2 separate regions of the Homo sapiens genome follow, and region 2 is linked to region 1. Evidence: promoter capture Hi-C in human tissues and cell types (Jung and others, 2019). All regions are on one chromosome and are shown on one strand. Each heading gives the region's core, a stretch centred on a gene start or on the middle of the fragment in contact. The rest is flanking DNA. Distances are from core to core; before and after follow the strand shown.

Evidence for each region. The method cuts DNA at HindIII sites, captures the fragments that hold promoters and counts their contacts. A contact is called where the count stands out against the background at its distance.
Region 2: a contact is called between a fragment that was not itself captured here and the fragment with the promoter of TRIM61 in region 1, in 2 of the 25 tissues and cell types used here (adrenal gland and lymphoblastoid cells).

The regions. Positions count from the first base shown.
Region 1 is chr4:164,976,032-164,980,765 of GRCh38, reverse strand. It overlaps TRIM61 (tripartite motif containing 61), which reads left to right and starts at 3,109. Exons shown (of 3, transcript NM_001414904.1): 1 at 3,109-3,235; 2 at 3,941-4,078. RefSeq lists enhancers at 2,831-2,890, 2,921-3,000. The HindIII fragment of the contact is 6,036 bases long and covers 1-3,615 here.
Region 2 is chr4:164,921,391-164,926,265 of GRCh38, reverse strand. No RefSeq gene overlaps it. Among named protein-coding and RNA genes, the nearest start is that of FAM218A, 33 kb to the left of the region's middle. The HindIII fragment of the contact is 7,148 bases long and covers 1-4,875 here.

The sequences.
Region 1 (4,734 bases), core at 1,860-4,359:
TGTTTTGTTGCTCCCTGTGTCCATGTGTTCTCATTGTTCAACTGCCACTTTTGAGTAAGAACATGAGGTGTTTGATTTTCTGTTTCTGTGTTAATTTGCTGAGAATGATGGCTTTCAGCTTCAACTATGTCCCTGCAAAGTACTATGTCCCTCAACTATTTCCCTCATTTTTTTATGGCTGCAGAATATTCCATGGTGTATGTGTTCCACATTTTCATTTTTTTTTTTCTTTTTGAGTTGAAGTCTCGCTCTTGTCCTCCAGGCTTGAGTGCAATGGCGCCATCTCGGCTCACTACAACCTCCAGCTCCCGGGTTCAAGCGACTCTCCTGCCACAGCCTCCCGTGTAGCTGGGATTACAGGTGCTTGCCACCATGCCCGGCTAATTTTTGTATTTTTAGTAGAGACAGGGTTTCACCATGTTGGCCAGGCTGGTCTCGAACTCCTGACCTCAGGTGATCCACCTGCCTCAGCCTCCCAAAGTGCTGGGATTACAGGCGTCAGCCACCACGCCCGGCTATGTTCACATTTTCTTTATCCATTCTATCACTGATGGGCATTTGGATTGGTTCCAAATCTTTGTTATTGTAAATAGTGCTGCAATAAACATACGTGTGCATGTGTCTTTATAGTAGAATGATTTATAGTCCTTTGGGTATCTTAAATAATTTTTTTTTTGGTGACAAAGTCTCCCTCTGTCGCCCAGACGGGAGTGCAGTGGCGCGATCTCGGCCCACTACAACTTCTGCCTCACGGGTTCAAGCAGTTCCTCCCCTGAGTAGCTGGGATTACAGGCAGGCGCCACCACGCCGGCTAATTTTTGTATTTTTAGTAGAGATGGGGTTTCACCATGTTGGTCAGGCTGGTCTCGAACTCCTGACCTTGTTATCCGCCCACCTCGGCCTCCCAAAGTGCTGGGATTACAAGCGTGATTTTTAATGCCACGTACTGTGACAGGGAAAGAAACCACCCTGCTGGCTGCATAGTTTGTTTAAATAGCATAATATACAGGGTGGGTGCAGTGGCTCACACCTTTAAGTAATCCCAGCATTTTGGGAGCCCGAGGCGGGTGGATCGCTTAAGCCCAGGAGTTTGAGATCAGCCGGGCCAACACAGTGAAACCCCCGTCTGTACTGAAAGCACAAAAACTTAGCCGGGCGTGGGTGGCACGCGCCTGTAATCCCAGCTACTCTGTAGGCTGAGGCAGGAGAACTGTTTGAACCAGGGAGGCTGAACCCGCGAGGCGGAGCTTGCAGTGAGCCAAAATGGCGCCATTGTACTCCAGCCTGGGCGAAAATAACAAATAAATACCATGCACTCACCTCACTGCAAAGTAATATGGGGGAAGCTGCTGCCACTGGTATTTCTTTTCCTTTCTTTTTCAGGAGACTCTGGAATTTCAAAAGGTTTACGAACAAGGACTTTGCTTTATCGGTTGATTTGTCTAGGTCACACCTCTATTCAACTGTCCACCATACACCCTTTCTAGGATATATTAAAGGCATCGACGGGTCTTTATTCCACAATTCAAATCTTAGTACTTCATGTTTAAAATGCTTCACTGGCTTTTCTTTGCATTTGATAAAAACCAATATCCTCAATTTTGCCTAAAGGGCCTTGCAGCATTCATTCTCGCCTATCTCATCAGCCTCACAAAGCCATTTTCCATATTTTATACTTCTTGCAATTTCCCACGTTGTAGTGCCAACCAAATGACCTCTTTCAGTTCCTTTTGTACCAAGTTTTTAAAAATTATCATCTCTAGGCAGGGCGCGGTGGCTCACGCCTGTACTCCTAGCACTTTGGGAGGCCGAGGCGGGCGGATCACGAGGTCAGGAAATCGACACCATCCTGGCTAACACGGTGAAACCCCGTCTCCACTAAAAATACAAAAAATTAGCTGGGCGTGGTGGCAGGCACCTGTAGTCCCAGCTACTCTGGAGGCTGAGGCAGGAGAATGGCGTGAACCCGGGAGGCGGAGCTTGCAGTGAGCCGAGATCACGCAACTGCACTCCAGCCTGGGCCACAGAGCGAGACTCCGTCTCAAAAAAAAAATAAAAATAAAAATAAAATTATCATTTCTGGCTGGGTGAGGTGGCTCACGCCTGTAATCCTGGCACTTTTGGGAGGCCGAGGCGGGCGGATTGCCTGATCTCAGGAGTTCGAATCCAGCCTGGGCAACACGATGAAACCCCGTCTCTACTAAAAATACAACAACAAAAAATTAGCCAGGCGTGGCGGCGTGCGCCTATAGACCCAGCTACTCGGGAGACAGAGGCAGGAGAATTGCTTGAAACTGGGAGGCAGAGGTTGCAGAGAGCCAAGATCGCGCCACTGCACTCCAGCCTGGGCGAAAGAGAGATTCCGTCTCTTATTAAAAGAAAAAAAAATCATTTCTAAAATATTTTGTAGACGCAGGGTCTGGCAATGTTACCTAGGCTTGTCCTGAACTCCTGGCCTCAAGCGATCCTCCCACCTCTGCCTCTGAAAGTGCTTGGATTACAGGTGTGAGCCACTATGCCCGGCCTGTACTAAATTCTTTAAAGTTGAGAGGCTCCACATTGGCTCTTCTTCCAGCCTTGAAGACTTTGACCGTGGAATTGATCCAACGAATGCCTCTTCATCCCTCAAATTCCGCCTGAAATGTCACTTCCTCAGGTAAACCTGAGTTCATAGGGTAGGGCACAATCCCACAGGGTGGGAGAGATCCACCCACTCACCCACTGAGATGCAAACTAATCCAAAGGGGCTTCTATTCCTCTTTCAAGCATAGGGAGTGCTCAACGACTCCACCCTGCGACCCCAGGCTACGGGAAGCAGTTGACCCTGCAAAGCTCTCCACTCCCTCACCATCTGGGAGGGGACGCTGTGCTGGTGAAGCTTTTAAAACCAACTTGCAGACTTACTTGGACCCTCAAGTTTACTCATATACATAAAAAGTGATAAGAATCCGAAAAGACAGCCAGGGGAATTAAATGCCAGTTGGGGCCAACGGGGCCCTGATCACGGAAGAGGGCGCCCCCAGCTCTCAATCTTCACACAATCCCTGCACCCAGGGTCACAGAGCATGCGCAGGTCCTTCCCGCCCACTTCCGGGGCAACTGCCAACCACCGCGCAGGCTGAGCCCCAGGCAGGAAGCAGCCCACTTGGTGGGGTTGGGGTATGAGTCCTTCCTCGCGGGGGCTCGGTGGGTCCTGAGTATTCTTTGGCCGGATTTGCTGATCCGTCTGCTCCAGGTGAGCTGGGAAGGCCGCAGGAAAGGCCCAGAAGGGCCTCGCCAGGAGGCTTAACTGGACAGGGGCTTCTTGAACATTCTCTGTGCCTAAACCTCCGGGTCGCTGCCTGCCCACGACTGGATCTCCTTAGTGTCTGGCGTAGCTCTTGTGAAAAATTCAGGATTGTAGAGTTAGAATGGGGGTGTTGAGCCTGTATCAATTAAGCTTTAAATGTTATGATCTGAATTAGGGTTTATGAAGTGGCTATGTTATCTTCAAAGAGTTAATGTACGTGTTTGGGAGTGGGGGTTGGGGAGTTAAGGGAGCGAAGTGGTAGCTGCCAGTTGAGAACCCACCAGCCTACGTCGTCTGCACCCTCGACCTATGTAAGCATCCTGTAATCCTCACAAGGGTCTTACAGGTACGAATTATCATTTCAACTTTGTAGATGAGGCGCTTTAGGTGCAGGCATGTTAAGAATCAGCCAGTATGATGATGGTTGAAACTGAGAGCTTGGAATCTACCACAGGTTTTATTTATTCCTCAAACAAGCTAGAGACGTATTGCCACCAAGAAGCTTGCTGCCTGGTGAGGGGTTTTTACAGTTAGGTAAAGAATTGCAGAGTAGCTGTAAAATCACATAACTGTGATATGTGACATGATGGGAGCTAGGCAAAAAACTTGGACTAGATCTTAATGGATCTTTTTGCTTTGTTTTCCTTAAAGCATAGGTTCACAAAGTACAGTCCGCAGGCCAGCAGCATCATCTGGGAACTTAGGAAAAAACCAGCCCTACTGAGTCAGAAACTGGGGATGTGGCCCAGGCAATCTTTTACCAAGACCTCCAGGTGATTATAATGCAAGGTAAGATTTGAGAATTGCTTCCATAAAGTAATAAAGGACCAGTGGAATGTTTTCAGTTGAAATATGAAAGGATTCTGTTTGTATTTGAAAAGGTCAGTTTAGCTACAGACTTCAGAAATTGGAGGCACCATTGTGTATCTAGGAGAGAGACATAAGTGGTTTAAACTAGGGTGGTGACTGTGCCTACAGAGCTGTTCTGTTCACTTAATGTCCTGATTTTAAATAGTAGAGAAGACTGCTTTGGGTGTATGCTTGGGGAAAGGAGGGCACAATGATACCTGGAGTGAGTCCTCTTGTGTCCTTTATGAAGGGGTGGCCTGCCCCTCCACACCTGTGGGTATTTCTAGTCGGGTGGGACGAGAGACTGAGAAAAGAAATAAGACAGAGACAAAGTATAGAGAAACAACAGTGGGCCCAGGGGACCGGCGCTCAGCATACCAAGGACCTGCACCGGCACCGGCCTCTGAGTTCCCTCAGTTTTTATTGATTATTATTTTCATTATTTCAGCAAAAAGGAATGTAGTAGGAGAGCAGGGTTATAATAAGGAGAAGGTCAGCAACAAACATGTGAGCAATAGAATCTATGTCATAATTAAGTTCAAGGGAAAGTACTATGACTGGACGTGCACGTAAGCCAGATTTATGTTTCTCTCCAC
Region 2 (4,875 bases), core at 1,466-3,965, 54 kb after region 1:
TGTCTGGTTTTTACCAAAAACAAAAAAAAACAAGGCATACAAAAAAAAATGTAAAAGGAAAATAAACCACACTCTGAAGAGACAAAATGAACATCGGAACCATACTAAGCTATGACACACATGTAGGAACTCTCATGCAAAAAAATGAAAATAATTGTAATTGATATGTTAAAGGCTTTAGTGGAAAATAAAGACAACATGCGGGATCAGATAGATAATTTTATCAGAGTTGGAAACTATAAAATCAAATGGAAAAGCTGGGCACGGTGGCTCACGCCTGTAATCCTAGCACTTTGGGAGGCTGAGGCAGGCAGATCACTTGAGGTCAGGAGTTCCAAACTAGGCTGACCAACATGGTGAAACCCTGTCTGTACTAAAAATACAAAAAAAAATTTGCCCGGTGTGGTGGCGGGTGCCTGTAATCCCAGCTACTCTGGAGGCTGAGGGAGGAGAATTACTTGAACCCGAGAGGTGGAGGTTGCAGTGAGCTGAGATCGTGCCACTGCATTCCAGCCTCGGTGAGCAAGTGAGACTCTGTCTCAAAAAAAAAAAAAAAAAAAATCAAATGGAAATGCTAGCAATGAAAACCACAGAAAAGAGTTGAAGATGCCTTCAATGGGCTCATTAGTACCCTCAACACACTGAGGGAAATAATCAGTGAACTTGAAGATAGATAAACAAACTACCCAAACTGAAATATAAAGTGAAAAGAACAAAAAACAAAAACTAAGAACTGTGGGACAGTATCAAACAGTGTCATTTATGGATACTTGGAATCTCAGAAAGAAGAAATCTCATCACTAGGAAATGAAGGCAAAAATAAATAAAAATTTAAAAAGAAAAACCGAGGAGATATTCAAAAAAATCATGGCCAAGAATTTAGTTACAGACACTAAAACTCCAGAACCAAGAAGCCCAGAGCATACCAAGCATGATGACTATCAAAACACACAAACCAAAACAAGAAAAAAATGACAACATATCTCCAAACATATCAATATATCAATCAAATTCAAACTGCTGAAAATTAAAATCAAAAACACAATTTTGAAGGCAGCCCAAGTAAAAAACTACATTACTGCCTTGCATACATTAACTATGGGAATATGTTCTGAGAAGTACATCATGGGATGATTTCATCATTCTGTGAACATCATAGAGTATGTGTACACAAACCTAGATAGTAATTTTGTAGCTTATTATGCCTGTAAGCTATATGGTACAGCCGAATGCTCCTAGGCTAGTAAACCTGTACAGCAAGTTACTGTGCTGAATACTATAGAAATTGTAACACAAAGGCAACTATTTTTGTATCTAGGTATACGTAACCACAGAAAATTTCCATAAAAATGCAGGTTTATAATCTTATAGGACCACTGTCATGTATGTGGTCAGTGGTTGAAACACTGTTATGCAGTGCATGACCACTGACAAAGGAAGGAGGATAAGAATTACAACAGACCTCTCATCAGAAAATGTGAAATCCAGGACACAATAGTTACTTCTGTAAATAAAAAAAATCTTGCCAACTCACAATTCTATAACCGATTAGCACATTTCTCAAAAGCAATGGAGAAATACTTAGAAAAATAAAATGGAGGGAATTTGTTGCCATCAAGCAGACACTAAGAGGAATGTTAAAGTACTTCAGGCCAAAGGAATATTATAGATGTCAGAAACTTGTGTTTACACAAAGAAATAAAGTGCATAAAATAAAGGTAATTGCTCTAAAAGATAACTAGCTGTTTAAAACAATAATAAGTGTTTTTCCAGCATATGTAAAAGTATTGTATGAATACAAGACCACAAAGAATCAGTGAGAATTGGGAATACACTATTACAAGGTTCTTATACTGAAAAGGAAACAGTATAATTTCATTTAAAGGAGGCCTCAAATTTTTTTAAAATGTATACTGTAAACCCCTGGGAGAACCACTAAAAAATGTTTTTAAAAGATGTATACAATAAGGCCAGGCACGGTGGCTCATGCCTATAATCCCAGCACTTTGGGAGGCTGAGGTGGGTGGATGACGAGGTCAAGAGCGAGATCATCCTGGCCAACATGGTGAAACCCAGTTTCTATTAAAAGTACAAAAATTAGGCTGGATGTGGTGACTCATGCCTGTAATCCCAGCACTTTGGGCAGCCGAGGCAGACAGATCATGAGGTCAAGAGATCAAGACCATCCTGGCCAACATGGTGAAACCTCGTCTCTACTAAAAATACAAAAATTAGCTGGGCATGGTGGCATGCGCCTGTAGTCCCAGCTACTTGGGAGGCTGAGGCAGGAGAATCGTTTGAACCTGGGAGGTGGAGGTTGCAGCGAGCCGAGATTGCACCACTGCACTCCAGCCTGGTGACAGAGCGAGACTCCAACTCAAAAAAAAAAAAAAAAAAAAAAAAATTAGCCGGGCATGGTGGCATGTGCCTGTAGTCCCAGCTACTCAGGAGGCTGAGGCAGGAGAATCGCTTGAACTCGGGAGGCGGAAGTTGCAATGAGTCGATATTGTGCTACTGCACTCCAGCCTGGTGACACAGTGAGACTCTGTCTCAAAAAATAAATAAATAAAATAAAAAGTTAATAGAAGAGATTAAAATGTAATCATAAAACATGCTTGATGAAACCCAGAGAAGCAAGGCATGGTGATGTGCACCTGTGGTCCCAGCTGTCCTGGAGGCTGAGGCAGGAGGATCTCCTGAGCCCAGGAGTTTGGGGATGCAGTGGGCTATGATTGTGCCTGTGAATAGCTATTGAATGCTAGCCTGGACAATATAGCCAGACCCTGTCTTAATCCTAGCACTTTTGAAGTCCAAGGTGGGCGGATCACTTGGGGCCAGGAGTTTTGAATCCAACCTGGGCAACATTAGTTAAGATCTTGTCTCCAATAAAAACAAAAAACAGAGAAGTCAAAATCAGCCTTCTTTTCAAGTTTCTGAGTCACTCACCAAGATAAACCACATCATAGGCTATGAAACATACCTTCACACATTTAAAGAATAGAAATAATACAAAATTAAAGTTGATATTGTAGAAAAATCTCTGAGAAATCCACAAACATGTGAAAATTAGTACCCTTCTAAATACCCCTTAGGTCAAAGAGTAAGTCTCAGGAAAATTAAATATTTGGAGCAAAATACAAATACAAATACAAATACAATATTTCAATGTTGGTGTAACATAGCTAAAGCAGTATTTACAGGGAAATTTATAGCATTAAATTTATAACATATTAGAAAAGAAGATCTAAAATCAGCAACTTAACCCTTTACCTTAAGAAACTAGACAGAACAAAAGCAAATGTAAAGCTTTTCAATGTAAAGCATGCAGAAGGACAAAAATAAAAATTAGAGCAGAAATCAATAAAATTGAAATTGGAAACAAGACAGAAAATCAACAAAACCAAAGCTGATTCTTTGAAAAGATAAAGTTAGAGGCAATATATTGATAACTGCCACAAACTGTCCAACCTAGTATGGGATTTCAAATGCATGCTCTTTTCAGTATCTCAGTGCCTTAGTTTCGGCAATGAGTAAGGGATAGAACAATTAGGAAGAAGGCTGATTATGTAGGGGAAATGGGGAAAAGAATATTATAGTGATGATTTCTTGGGGCATAAGGTTGGTAGTGGAATATTAAGTAGCCAGAAACTGGCAAGCGGAGTGCAGAGTAGGGATGCTGGAAATACACAATTATATTTTTCGTTTATGAAACTCTTATCACTTACAAGAACGATTCTGTCTTTAAACTATGATTGTTTTCTTGTCCAAGGAAGCCACTGTATTTACAGATCCTCAAATATTTCAGTCAATCCATGTATCTCTAATAGCACATTTCACCCCAATGTCATCCTATTTTTGATGTCTACTATAATTCATTATTGTAATTTAACGAGATGTGTAATTTTCTCTGGATTGGTGTAAGATTAAGATAACTGGCCAGGTGTGGTGGCTCACGGCTATAATTCCAGCAATTTGGAGGCTGAGGCAGGTGGATCACTTGAGGTCAGGAGTTCAAGACCAGCCTGACCAACATGGTGAAACCCTGTCTCTACTAAAAAATACAAAAGTTGACCATGTGTGGTGGCATGCGTCTGTAATTCCAGCTACTTGGGAGGCTGAGGTGCGAGAATTGCTTGAACCCAGGAGGCAGAGGCTGCAGTTAGCAGAGATCACGCCACTGCACTCCAGCCTGGGCGACAGAGCTAGACTCCATCTCAAAAAAATAAAAATAACTGAAGCATTACAATAGTACTTGGAGCTTAAATTTATCCATTATAATGCCAGCTGACCTTGGGTACGAGTTCCTGACCAAATTTGTGTAGCTGACTAAATGTCATGCTTATAGAACATTTGTTTATGTTAATGTATTTCATAATACATTGTAGATATCATAACTATATATTTCTCAATTTAAAAGATTAAAATACGTAAGAGTAAATTGTTTCAAAACTATAATTTCAGACCCTGAAAAACTTCTGATTAAATATCAGGATAGACTAAAGACATTTTCAGAGGTCAGGTGTGGTGGCTCATGCCTGTAATCCCAGCACTTTGGGAAGCTGAGGCGGGTGGATCACAAGGTCAGGAGATCGAGACCATCCTGGCTAACATGATGAAACCCTGACTCTACTGAAAATACAAAAAAATTAGCCAGGTGTGGTGGTGGGCACCTGTAGTCCCAGCTACTCGGGAGGCTGAGGCAGGAGAATGGCGTGAACCTGGGAGCCAGAGCTTGCAGTGAGCCAAGATCACGCCACTGCACTCGAGCCTGGGCGACAGAGCAAGACTCTGTCTCAAAAAAAAAAAAAAAAAAAAAAGACATTTTCAGATACAAAGGTATCAAAAGGTATCAAAAACTTTATTTCCCATGAACCT